2 separate regions of the Homo sapiens genome follow, and region 2 is linked to region 1. The links are contacts of gene promoters, found by promoter capture Hi-C in human tissues and cell types (Jung and others, 2019). All regions are on one chromosome and are shown on one strand. The core of a region is centred on a gene start or on the middle of the fragment in contact, and the rest is flanking DNA. Distances in the headings are between cores, read along the strand shown.

Region 1 (6,640 bases), core at 2,035-4,534:
GAGTTGCAAATATATTTCACCACAGATCCATTTTTATAGGAATATATACAAATACCTCTTGGAATCCCAATGTTATCTTCACTGCATTTTCAGATTGTTTATATCCTGGATAACTTACACTGAGCTTCAGGATTGGGTCTCATATTCCTGGTGCCTAAAGGTAAGCACAATCTGTCATATGTATCTTACTAACTTAGAAGAAATGTCAAATTTTCATTAGAAACAATATTATTTTTCTTTATAGAATTTTATTGAATGAATGTTCATATGGATCTTAATATAGAAGGCATAGGGCAATCTAGTGCTCAATATTTTCAATTTTATCACTTATAAACTGTTATAAATTTGTGATATATCTTGCCACATTCTCTGTGACAGCACAAAATCAAGGAAGGCAATTTTAGCACGTGGGTATGAAGAGAATTTTGAGGCAATGAAAGGAGGTGAAAAATACGAGACAAATAAGAGTGCATTTATATAAGTTCAGCCTAAACTAATGTGACTGATACAATTCAGAGGGATATGTAGACTTACATTTGTAATCAATTTTGTTTTAATGCTGCATCATTCAATGGAATGTAAAACATATGGTAGAAATGTCTAAGTGATCAAGTAGAATTAATCACCATTTTATCTCAACTTAGTGACTTGGAAGTAGTGTTTCCCAAATGTAAAGAACACTTTGCCAACTGAAAAAGAAGCATAGGGAGAAGCGAACTTGACCACATAGCTTCCTTCTTGGAGTAATATTTCAGACTGAGTTAAAGAAAAATTATGGTGGAAATTTGAGGTAATACAGTTTAGTTTGGATAAATTGTGTATTGTAACAGTTGACAAGATCAAGAAAACTGGGACAGCTACAGTATGATGGTCGAAATAGGTGGTTCCATAAAGTAAGTTGAGATGAGTTATTTTCTTGAAGCGAATTCAGCTCATAAGCACTGGAAATTATTGAGGCAATACAACGTCTTTTCCCCTGATTGACCTTAAAAGCCCACCTCCTCTTGAGGACAACACAAGGGAACCCTTTGGTAGGAAACCCCCAACACTGAAGATCCCAGAGATGCCCATTTCTCATTCTCAAGACATTGACTGGACCTGGATCTGAGCTACCACTGATCAGGTTTATCCAACTTCTTGATAACCATTTGTTTTAAAACCAGAAAGGGAGGAGGTTGAAGCCTGTTTCTCTCTTCATGCTGATTGACAAAAATGATTTGTTTTTATTTTAGAGATTGCCATTCTAATCTCATGAGAGTCTCTTATGGAGATTCCTTCTCTGTCTTCCCTGCACTGAAGAGGCATGTTTTGTTAGGTTGTTCTTGAATGAAAACTTAAAACTCTGCTCGAGTATTTTTTTTCTTTCTTACCAATATTATTCACAATTAATATAAATAAATAAAACTCAAAAAGGTATACTTTACTACCTCCCTATTGAAAAAATTGTATTTCAACCCATGAGGACAAATTCCAGATTCCTTCTCTTCTGCAGATTTCTTCTAACTTCCTTGCTGCTCCTAGATTTTTCACCTTTCATTGATGTTGTTGTTTTCAGTCTCTTCATTAAAATGTGATGCATGAATAAATGAAAAAAGTACATTTCTGTCAAGTGAGTCTACTCACCAGGCTTGTCTTTCTGTTTATGACATCATTTTTTACTGCCTGGAATAATCTCCCTTCACATATTGGCTTTGCTCATACATTTATTATTATCTCACACAATAAAAACTTAATGCCACAACATACAAGAAACATAACTCTAAATTAGAAAACCCTATGTTTTCCCAAAATCTTCCACACATTTCTATTTTCTCTGTGTATGTTCTATTTATTGCATTTCATTTTGTGGAATTTATATACGTACAACCCTTTCCTGTGATCTGGTGTCTTTCTCACTTGCTCAGAGTCTTTGCCAAAAGCCATTAGATGTGTGAGGTTTCCCTTGACTACTTTATTCAAAGGTGAACATACTAGTGCATTTCTAACACCCTTCTTTGACTTACTTTTCTCCAAAATGTTTATCCTCTTATGACATAAAGTGTTTTATAATCATCATCTGATCACACTCACTATGACCTGTATGGACACGGGCTTTCTTTATTCTGGTCACTGTGGTAGCCCCAGTGATCAACACATAGCCAGGCTTCATAAATGTTGTTGAAAGGATGAATCTCATGCTTTTCTTAATTTCTGTTTTTATATCTACTTATTTTCTATAGGATATATTGGATGTATTAATTTCCTACGAATGCCAGTACAGAGAAATCACAAACAGGTTACCTAAAACAATAGAAATTTATTCTCTCATAGTTTTGGAGTCTAGAAATCTGAAATCAAGTTGTCAGCAGGGTTGGACACTTCTGAGGGCTCTAAGAGGATGAATCTGTCCCATTCCTCTCTCCCAGGTTCCTGTTATAACTAACAGTTTTTGGCATTTCTTGATTTGTAGATGCACCACTCCAATCCCTGCCTCCCCTATCACATGGTATCCTCAGTGTCTCAGTCTTCACATGGCCACCCACTTATCAGAACATGAGTCATATTGAATTAGAGAGACCCACTCTGCTCCAACTTGACCTCACCTTAACTAATTATACCCTTTATGTATTTCTAAACAAGCTCACTTGCTATCTTTTGGGGAAGAAACATAATTCAATGCATCACACTGGGCTATAGAAAAAAGAGCATATGTCTTAGATTTGTATAATTGAAAATCTTTTCAGTGAATCCACTTACTGTATAGAAAACTTACTATAAAGTATAGATAAAATACTTTAAACTGTAAAGTAATAGGTAAACATACACATTTTCTTAACTCTGGTAGGAAAAATGCCTACTATCATGTGAATAAAGGCACAAATTTATTGTCCATTTCTAGTATTGTGTTGGTCACATGGTGACTGAACCTGAATTTCTCTATCAATTTACCTGTAACAGGCTTCTGATGTTTTAGGAACTGTTTGCTTTGGAGACATATTCTTTTTGGAAAAACTCCATTGATCATGTAGTAGATATTGTTATTGTAATTTTTCAATGGAGAAAAAGAATGCTTAGAAGAAAAGTTAGGACAAGCTCCATAATTTTATAAGTGAGACACTGCTGAGAGAACATATTTCTTTATGATTCCATAATTCTTAAACTTTGAGTTTTATAATTCTGGCCATCCTGTATTGATCACCAAACTACAGAATTTACCATAATCACATGCTTTATAAGGCACTGGGTAAATGTTTATCAAATTAATGAACTGTTTTTGCGGTGCTAGGTAACAGGCATATTCATCATGGCATGGGAGAATCAGACCTTCAACTCTGACTTCCTCCTCCTGGGAATCTTCAATCATAGCCCCACCCACACCTTCCTCTTCTTTCTGGTCCTGGCCATCTTTTCAGTGGCCTTCATGGGAAACTCCATCATGGTTCTCCTCATCTACCTGGATACCCAGCTCCACACCCCCATGTACTTCCTCCTCAGCCAACTGTCCCTCATGGACCTCATGCTCATCTGCACCACTGTACCCAAGATGGCCTTCAACTACTTGTCTGGCAGCAAGTCCATTTCTATGGCTGGCTGTGCCACACAAATTTTCTTCTATATATCATTGCTTGGCTCCGAATGCTTTCTGTTGGCTGTTATGTCTTATGACCGCTACACTGCCATTTGCCACCCTCTAAGATACACCAATCTCATGAGACCCAAAATTTGTGGACTTATGACTGCCTTCTCCTGGATCCTGGGCTCTACAGATGGAATCATTGATGCTGTAGCGACATTTTCCTTCTCCTACTGTGGGTCTCGGGAAATAGCCCACTTCTGCTGTGACTTCCCTTCCCTACTAATCCTCTCATGCAATGACACATCAATATTTGAAGAGGTTATTTTCATCTGCTGTATAGTAATGCTTGTTTTCCCTGTTGCAATCATCATCACTTCCTATGCTCGAGTTATTCTGGCTGTCATTCACATGGGATCTGGAGAGGGACGTCGCAAAGCTTTTACTACTTGTTCCTCTCACCTCATGGTGGTGGGAATGTACTATGGAGCAGGTTTGTTCATGTGCATTCAGCCCACATCTCATCATTCTCCTATGCAGGACAAGATGGTGTCTGTATTCTACACCATCGTCACTCCCATGCTGAATCCTCTCATTTATAGCCTCCGCAACAAGGAAGTGACCAGAGCATTAATGAAAATCTTAGGAAAGGGCAAGTCTGGAGATTGAGTTACCTCATAAATTTCATGTTTTGCTGTCTGCTAACGTCTTCTTTTTATTGTCTCTCTTTTTCTATTAAGTCCTAAAAATATCACTAATTGTGTGCATTGCTCAACATATTGATGGGTACCAGTATAATTTATTTCAGATAAACTATTTTAGATTTTTTAATATTCAATTCAGTTATGACTACAATATAAGGCATTTTCAATAAAGACATTCCATTTTTATTTTTAAATTTCATTATCATTTTGGGAAACACATAGTGTTTGGTTACATTAATAAGTTCTTTAATGGTGATTTCTGAGATTTTAGTGCAGCGATCAACCAAGCAGTGTTCGCTGTACCTAATGTGTAGTCTTTTAGCCCTCTCCAGTCCCCAACATTTCTTCCAAGTCCCCAAGTCCAGTGTATCATTTTTATGCCTTGGTGTTTCATAGCTTAGCTGGCACATATGAGTGAGAATATACGATGTTTGGATTTCCATGCCTGTGTGACTTCACTTTGTATAATAGTCTCCAATTCCAACCAGGTTGCTGCAAATGCTATTAATTAATTCATTTTTATGGAAGAATAGTATCCCATGGTATGTATATACCACCTTTTATTTATCCACTCATTGACTGATGATCATTTAGGCTGATTCCATCTATTTGCAATTGCAAATTGTGTTGATATAAACATGCAACATGTAAGTACCTTTTTTGTATAATGACTTCTTTTCTTCTGAGTATATACCTTGTAGTGGTATTGCTGGATCAAATGGTAAATCTACTTTTAGTTGTTTAAAGAATCTTCACACTGTTTTTCCTAGTGTTGTAATAGTTCACATTCCCATCAACAGTGTAAAAGGGTTCCCTTTTCACCACATCCATGTCAACATCTATTATTGTTTGATTTTTTGATTATGGCCATTCTTGCAGGAGTGAGTTTGTATTGCACTGTGGTTTTGATTTGTATTTCCCTGATAATTAGTGATGTTCAGCATTTTTCCTTATGCTTTTTGGCCGTTTGTATATCTCCTTGAGAACTGTCTATTCAAGTCCCTTAGCCCAATCCCAGTTTGATGGGATTGTTTGTTTTCTTCTTGCTAATTTGTTTGAGTTCTTTGTAGATTCTGGATATTATTCCATTGCCAGATGTATAGATTGAGAAGATTTTCTCCCACTCTCTGGGTTGTCTGTTAACTCTGTTGATTATTTCTTTTGCTTTGCAGAAGTTTTTTAGTTTAATTTAGTCTTATCTTTTATCCCCGCACCTCTTTTTTTTTTTTTTTTTTGCATTTTCTTTTGGGTTCTCGATCATGAAGTCTTTGCCTAAGCCAATATCTAGAAGGGTGTTCCCGATGTTATCTTCTAGAATCTTTATGGTTTCAGGTTTTAGACGTAAGTCTTTGATTGGCCTTGAATTTATTTTTGTATAAGGTGAGAGATGAGGATTCCGTTTCATTATCCTACATGTGGCGCGCCAATTATCCCAGCAGCATTTGTTGAATAGGTTGTCCTTTCCCCACTTTATGTTTTTGTTTGCTTTGTGGAAAACCAGTTTGCTGTAAATATTTGACATTATTTCTGGGTTCTCTATTCTATTTGGTTTGTCCATGTGCCTATTTTTATACCAGTACCATGCTGTTTTCATGATAATGACTTTATAGTACAATCTGAAGTTGGGTAATGTGATATTTCCAGATTTGTTCTTTTTGCTTAGTTTTGCTTTGGCTGTGCAGGCTCCATTTTGATTCCATATGAATTTTAGGATTGTTTCTTCTAGTTTTGTGAAGAATGATGGTGGCAATTTGATGGGAATTGTATTGAATTTGTAGATTGCCTTTGGCAGTATGGTCATTTTCACACTATTGATTCTACCCACCCATGTGCAAGGGAGGTGTTTCCATTTGTTTGTGTCATCAATGATTTCTTTCAGCAGTGTTTTGTAGTTTTTCTTGTAGAGGTCTTTCATGTCCTTGGTTAGGTATATTCCTTAGTTTTAGTTTTTGTTTTTGTTTGCAGCTATTGTAAAAGGGGTTGAGTTCTTGATTTGATTCTCATCTTGGTCACTGTTGGTTTATAGCAGAGCTACTGGTTTGTGTGCATTAATTTTGTATCCTGAAACTTTGCTGAATTCATTTACCAGTTCTAGGAGCTTTTTGGATGAGCCTTGAGGGTTTTCTAGGTATATGATTATATCATCAACAAACAGTGACAGTTTTCCTTCCTCTTTACCAATTTGGATGCCCTTTTTTTCTTTCTCTGGTATTATTGCTCTAGTTAGGACTTCCAGTACTATGTTGAATAGGAGTGGTGAGAGCGGACATCCTTGTCTTATTCCATTTCTCATGCAAAATGCTTTCAACTTTTCCCTATTAAGTTTATTATTGGCTGTCGATTTCTCACAGTTGGCTTTGATTATCTTATGGTATGTCCCTTC
Region 2 (6,456 bases), core at 5-2,504, 190 kb after region 1:
TGATCAGGCTCTCTGCTTGACTATTGCTGGTATATAGGAATGCTTGTGATTTTTGCACATTGATTTTGTATCCTAAGATTTTACTGAAGCTGTTTGTCAGCTTAAGTTGTTTTTGGGCTGAGATGATGGAGTTGTCTAAATATAGAATCATGTCACTTGCAAAAAGGCAATTTGACTTCCTCTCTTTTTATTTGAATACTTTTTAAAAATATATTGCCTGATTGCCCTAGCCAGAACTTCCAAAACTGTATTGAATAGGAATGGTGAGAGAGGGCATGCTTGTCTTGTGCCGGTGTTCAACAGGAATGCTTACAGCTTTTGTGATTCAGTATAATATTGCCTATGGCTTTGTCACAAATAGCACTTATAATTTTGAGATATGTTTCATCAATACCTAGTTTATTGAGAGTTTTTAATATGAAGGAATGTTGAATTTTATCAAAGGACTTTTCTGCATCTATTGAAAGAATCATGTGGTTTTTGCCTTTGGCTCTGTTTATATGATGGGTTACATTTATTGATTTGCATATATTGAACCAGCCTTGCATCCCAGAGATGAAGCCAGCTCGATTGGGGTGTATAAGCTTTTTGATGTGCTGCTGGATTTAGTTTGCTAGTATTTTATTGAGGATTTTGACATCAATGTTCATCTGAGATATTGGCTTGAAGTTTTCTTTTTTTTGTTTTGTCTCTGCCATGTTGTGTTAGCAAGATGATGCTGACCTCATAAAATCAGTTAGGGAGGAGCCCCTCATTTTCAATTATTTGGAATAGTTTCAGAATAAATAGTGCCAACCTCTCTTTATACTTCTGGTAGAATTTGGCTGTGAATACATCTGGTCCTGGGCTTTTTTTGTTGGTAGGCTATTAATTACTGCCTCCATTTCAGAACTTGTTATTGGTTTAATCAGGGATTTGACTCCTTCCTGGTTTAGTCTTGGGAGAATGTATGTGTCCAGGGATTTATCCATTGCTTCTAGGTTTTCTAGTTTATTTACATAGAAGTGTTTATAGTATTCTCTGATGGTAATTTGTATATCTGTGGGGCCATTGGTGATATCCTCTTTATCATTTTTTATTGTGTCTATTTGATTCTTCTCTCCTTTCTTCAATAGTCTAGCCTGTGGTCTATCTATTTTGTTATTTTTTTCAAAAAAACTAGCTCCTGGATTCATTGATTTTTTTGAAGGGATTTTTGTGTCTCTATCTCCTTCAATTCTGCTCTGATCTTAGTTATTTCTTGTCTTTTGCTAACTTTTGGATTTGTTTGCTCTTTCTTCTCTAGTTCTTTTAATTCTGATGTCAGGGTGTTGATTTGAGATCTTTCCAGCTTTCTGATGTTGGCACTTCGTGCTATAAATTTCCCTTTTAACAATACTTTAGCTATGTCCCAGTGATTCTGACAAGTTGTCTCTTTGTTCTCATTGGTTACAAAGAATTTCTTGATTTCTGCATTACTTTTGTTATTTAGCTAGGAGTCAAGGAGGGGCGGGTTGTTCAATATCCATGAAACTGTGCGGTTTGAGTGAGCTTCTGAATCCTGAGTTCTAATTTGATTGCATTGACAAGGGCACTTATAACAGTTGCCCTTGTTTGTTATAATTTCCATTCCTTTGCATTTGCAGAGGAGTGTTTCACTTCCAATTATGGTTGATTTTAGAATAAGCCCCACGTGGCACTGAGAATAGTGTATATTCTTTTGATTTGGGGTGGAGAGTTCTGTAGACGTCTGTTAGGTCCACTTGATCCAGAGCAGAGTTCAAATCCTGAATATCCGTGTTAAATTTCTGTATTGTTGGTCTGTTTCATATTGACAGTTGGGGGTTAAAGTCTCCCACTATTATTGTGTGGGAGTCTAAGTTTCCTTGTAGGTCTCTTATAACTGGCTTTATGAATCTGGATGCTACTGTATTTGGTGCATCTGTATTTAGAATAGTTAGTTTCTCTTGTTGAATTGATCCCTTTACCGTCATTTAATGCCCTTGTTTTACTTTTTTGACCTCTGTTGCTTTAAAGTCTGCTTTATCAGAGAGTAGGATTGCAACTTCTGCTTTCCTTTGCTTTCCATTTGCTTGGTAAACTCTCCTCTATCGCTTTATTTTAGCCTCTGTGTGTCTTTGCGCATGAGATGGATCTCCTAAATATAGCACACTGATGGGTCTTCATATTTTATCCAATTTGCCAGTCTGTGTCTTTTAATTGGGGATTTCACCCATTTACATTTAAGGCTAAAATTGTTATGTGTGATTTTGATCCCGTCATCATGATGCTAGCTGGTTATTTTGCACACTAGTTGATGCAGTTTCTTCATACTATCATTGGTCATCATATTTTGCTGTGTTACTTCAGTGGCTGGTACCAGATTTTCCTTTTCATATTTAGTGGTTCCTTTGGGACCTCTTGAAAGGCAGGCCTGGTGGTGATGAAGTTCCTTATCATTTCCTTGTGTGGAAAGCATTTTCTTTCTCCTTCACTTATGAAGCTTAGTTTGCCTGGGTATGAAATTCTGGGTTGAAAATTCTTTTCTTTAAGTATGTTGAATAGTTGCCCCACTCTCTTCTAGCTTGTAGGGTTTCTGCTGAGATATCTGCTGTTAGTCTAATGGGCTTCCCTTTGTAGGTGACCTGAACTTTCTCTCTGGCTGCCCTTAATAGTTTTTCCTTCATTTCAACCTTGGAGAATCTGTTGATTATGCATCTTGGGGTTGATCTACTCATGAAATATCTCAGTGGTGTTGTCTGCATTTCCTGAATTTGAATGTTGGCCTGTCTTTCTAGGTTGGGGTAAGTTCTCCCGGATGATATCCTGAAGTGTGTTTTCCAACTTGGTGCCATTCTGAATGTCTTGTGTTTATGCATTATCCCATATTTCTCACAGGTTTTGTTTGCTTCTTTTTATTCTTTTTTCTCTAATCTTGTCTGCATGCTTTATGTCAGCAGGATGGCCTTCAAACTCTGATATCCTTTTGTCTGCTTGATATCTAATCTTGTCTACATGCCTTATTTCAGTAAGTTGATCTTCATTCTCTGATGTCCTTTCTTCTGTTTGATCAATTCAGCTATTGATACCTGTGTGTGCTTCAGGAAGTTCTCATGCTGTGTTTTTCAGCTCCATCTTGTCATTTTTGTTCCTCTCTAAACTGGTTATTTTAGTAAGCAGCTACAGTAACTTTTTATCCAGGTTCTTAGCTTCTTTACTTTGGGTTAGAACATGCTCCTTTAGCTCAACGGAGTTTGTTATTACCCACCTTCTGAAGACTACTTCGTCAATTCATCCATCTCATTTTCCATCCAGTTCTGCACCCTTCCTGGAAAGGTACTGCAATCATTTGGAGGAGAAGAGACATTCTGTCTCCTGGAAATTTTAGTGTTTTGCACTGGTTTTTTGCTCATTTTCATGGATTTACCTACTTTTGATCTTTGAAGCTGATGATCTTTGGAAGCGGTTTTTTGGGTGGGTATTTTTGTTGATGTTTTGATTGTTGTTGCTTTCTGTTAGTTTTTCTTCTAAGCCAGGCCCCACTTCTGGAGGTCTGCTATAGTTTGCTGGGGGCCCATTCCAGGCCCTGTTGGCCTGGGTATCACCAGTGGAGGCCATAAAACAGCAAAGGTTGCTGCCTGCTGCTTCCTCAAAGCTTCGTCCCAGAGGAGCACCAGCTTGTTGCCAGCCAGAGCTCTCCTGTATGAGGTGTCTGTCGACCCCTATTGGGAGGTCTCTCCCAGTCAGGAGGCATCTGGTCAGGACCTGCTTGAGAAGGCCATCTGTCCCTTAGCAGAGCTGTAGCACTGTGCTGGGAGAACCCCCTTGTCAGAATCAGCTGCTCTCTTCAGACCCGGCAGGCAGGAAAGATTAAGTCCACTGAACCTGTGACTGCAGCCTGTCCTCCCTCCAGGTGCTCTGTCCCAGGACGATGACAGTTCTGTCTGTAAGCCCCTGAATGGAGCTTCTGGATTTCCTGCAGAGATGCCCTGCCCTGTGAGGAGAAATCTAGAAAAGCAGTCTGTCCACAGCTCATTTGCTGTGCTGTGGTGAATTCTGCTCAGTACAAACCTCCCATTCTCCTTAGCACCAGCAGGGTAAAACCGCCTACTAAGCCACAGTAACGGTGACCTCCTCGTTTCCCTACCCACACCAACACCAAACTCGATAGTCCCAGGCCGACTCCAGACTGCGGTGCTGTCAGTGGGAATTTCAAGCCAGTGGTTCTTAGCTTGCTGGGCTCAATGGGAGTAGGATTCGGAGACCAAGACCACTTGGCTCGCTGGCTTCAGCCCCCTTTCCAGGGGAGTGGACAGTTCTCCTGTTGCACTGGAGTTCTAGGTGCCGTTGGAGTCTGAAAAATTTCCTGCAACTCAGCACCAGCTCCAACAGCCACCCCGTTTTGTGTTCGAAACCCAGGGCCCTGGCAGTGTAGGCTCACAAGGAAATATCTTATTCTGTGGATTGCAAAAATCCACGGAAAGAGCGTAGTACCCCAGGCTGGCAGCACAGTCCCTCACCTCTTTGCTTGGCTAGGGGAGGGAGGTCCCCTGGCTCTTTGCACCTCCTGGATGAAACGATGCCCCACCCTGCTTCTGCTAACTCTCTATGGGTCACACCCACTACTTAGCCAGTCCCAATGAGATGAACTGGGGACCTCAGTTGGAAATACAGAAATCACCCATCTTCTGCATTGGCCTCACTGGGAGCTGTTTCTATTCGGCCATCTTGGCCCCTCTTCCAGTATATTAACTTTAATTCCAAAGCAGATTTCAAGAGGATCAATAAAATTTTGAGTTTATACATTGGGAAAAGAAGAAGTGTATGCTACCTGGATGCATAGCACAAATTTTATGATACTGAAAATGCATAAAACTTTAATGTGCTGATAAGAATTAAGATGGTGGATAAGAGGCAGGACTAGCTTGCAGCTCCCACTCAAATGGACAGAGTAGCATCTGGAAACTCAAACATTGTGAACTTTTGCTCCAAGAACTACTGCAGAAACATACCGGGAAAGCTGAGAGAATCCACAGACCCTTTGAAGGAACTGGATTCCTGCTGTAGGCTCCCTGAGACACAGAAAACCTGTGAGTCTGCTTGCTTTCTCAACAGAGAGGCTCGTGTTCTGGAACAAGTTCTCAGCCCTGGTCACCAGCTTCCTGGAAACAGACTCTGTGCTGTTGCGGAGGCACGCTGAAAGTATGACTGGCCTTTAGGACTCCTGGCTGTGTGGGAGCTGGGTGAGGCCTGTAACCGCTGGCTTTCTCTCACTTTCCTGGTGACCTGTTTGTTGCAGCAGAGGTAGCCATAATCCCCCTGGGAATATAACTCCATTGGACTGGAAACTACACCCCCATTGACCTCACAGCAGCAGCACAGCAAGCTCCACCCAAGGAGAGGCTGAGCTCAGACAAGCTTATCTTAGCCCACACCTGGTGGACCTTCTCTACCCACCTTGGGGGCCGAAGACAAAGGTAATAATCTCTTGGGTGCTCTAAGGCCATGCCCACCAGCTGAGAAATATGAATACTTGAAAAGGTGCCCCTAGGGCACATAACAACAGGTTATCTAAAGTCAAGATGAAGGAAAGAATCGTAAGAGCTATGACACAAAAGCATCAGGTAACTTATAAAGAAAAACCTGCCAGATTAACAGCAGATTTCTCACCAGAAACTTTATAAGATAGAAGGAATTGGGGTCTTATTTTCAGCCCCTTTGAACAAAACAATTATCAGCCAAGAATTTTCTATTCAGTGAAACTAATCTTCTTAAAGGAAGTAAAGATACAGTCATTTCCAGACAAACAAATGCTGGGAGAATTCACCATTACCAACCCAGCACTATAAGAACTGCTATAAGGAGTTCTAAACTTGAAACAAATTCTTGGATTACACCAAAACAGAACCGCCCTAAAGCATAAATATCACATGACATACATAACAATAACAGAATGAAAATGAAACCAACAAAGAGCACAACAGATAGAATAGTACTTCACATCTCAATACTATCATTAATGTTAGTGGCCTAAATGTTCCACTTAAAAGATACAGAATGACAGAATAGATAAGAATTTGACAACCAAGCATCCCCATCTTCATGAGATTCACCTAACACATAAGGACTTACATAAACTTAATATAAAGGGGTGGAAGAAGATATTCCATGCAAATGTAAACCAAAGGTGCACAGGAGTACCTACTATCATATCAGAAAAAAAACAAACTTTAAAGCATCAGCAGATAAAAAAAAAGACAAAGAGCAACAGTATATAATGATAAAAGGACTAGTACAACAGGAAAATATCATAATTGTAAATATATATCTACCTAATTGTGAAACTCCCAAATATATAAAAAAATTATTACCAGTCCTAAGAAATCAGATAGGCAACAATACAAAAATACTGGGATACTTTAATACTCAACGGAGAACACTAGACATATCATCCAAACAGAAAGTCAACTAAGAAAC

The links. Contacts are between HindIII fragments. The study calls those that stand out against the background at their distance.
Region 2: a contact is called between a fragment that was not itself captured here and the fragment with the promoter of OR2M7 in region 1, in 1 of the 25 tissues and cell types used here (neural progenitor cells).

Annotation. Positions count from the first base shown.
Region 1 is chr1:248,321,212-248,327,851 of GRCh38, reverse strand. OR2M7 (olfactory receptor family 2 subfamily M member 7) reads left to right here and starts at 3,284. Exons shown (of 1, transcript NM_001004691.1): 1 at 3,284-4,222. The coding sequence starts at 3,284. The coding sequence ends at 4,222. The HindIII fragment of the contact is 10,500 bases long and covers 1-6,640 here.
Region 2 is chr1:248,126,581-248,133,036 of GRCh38, reverse strand. No RefSeq gene overlaps it. Among named protein-coding and RNA genes, the nearest start is that of OR2M5, 15 kb to the left of the region's middle. The HindIII fragment of the contact is 6,525 bases long and covers 1-4,516 here.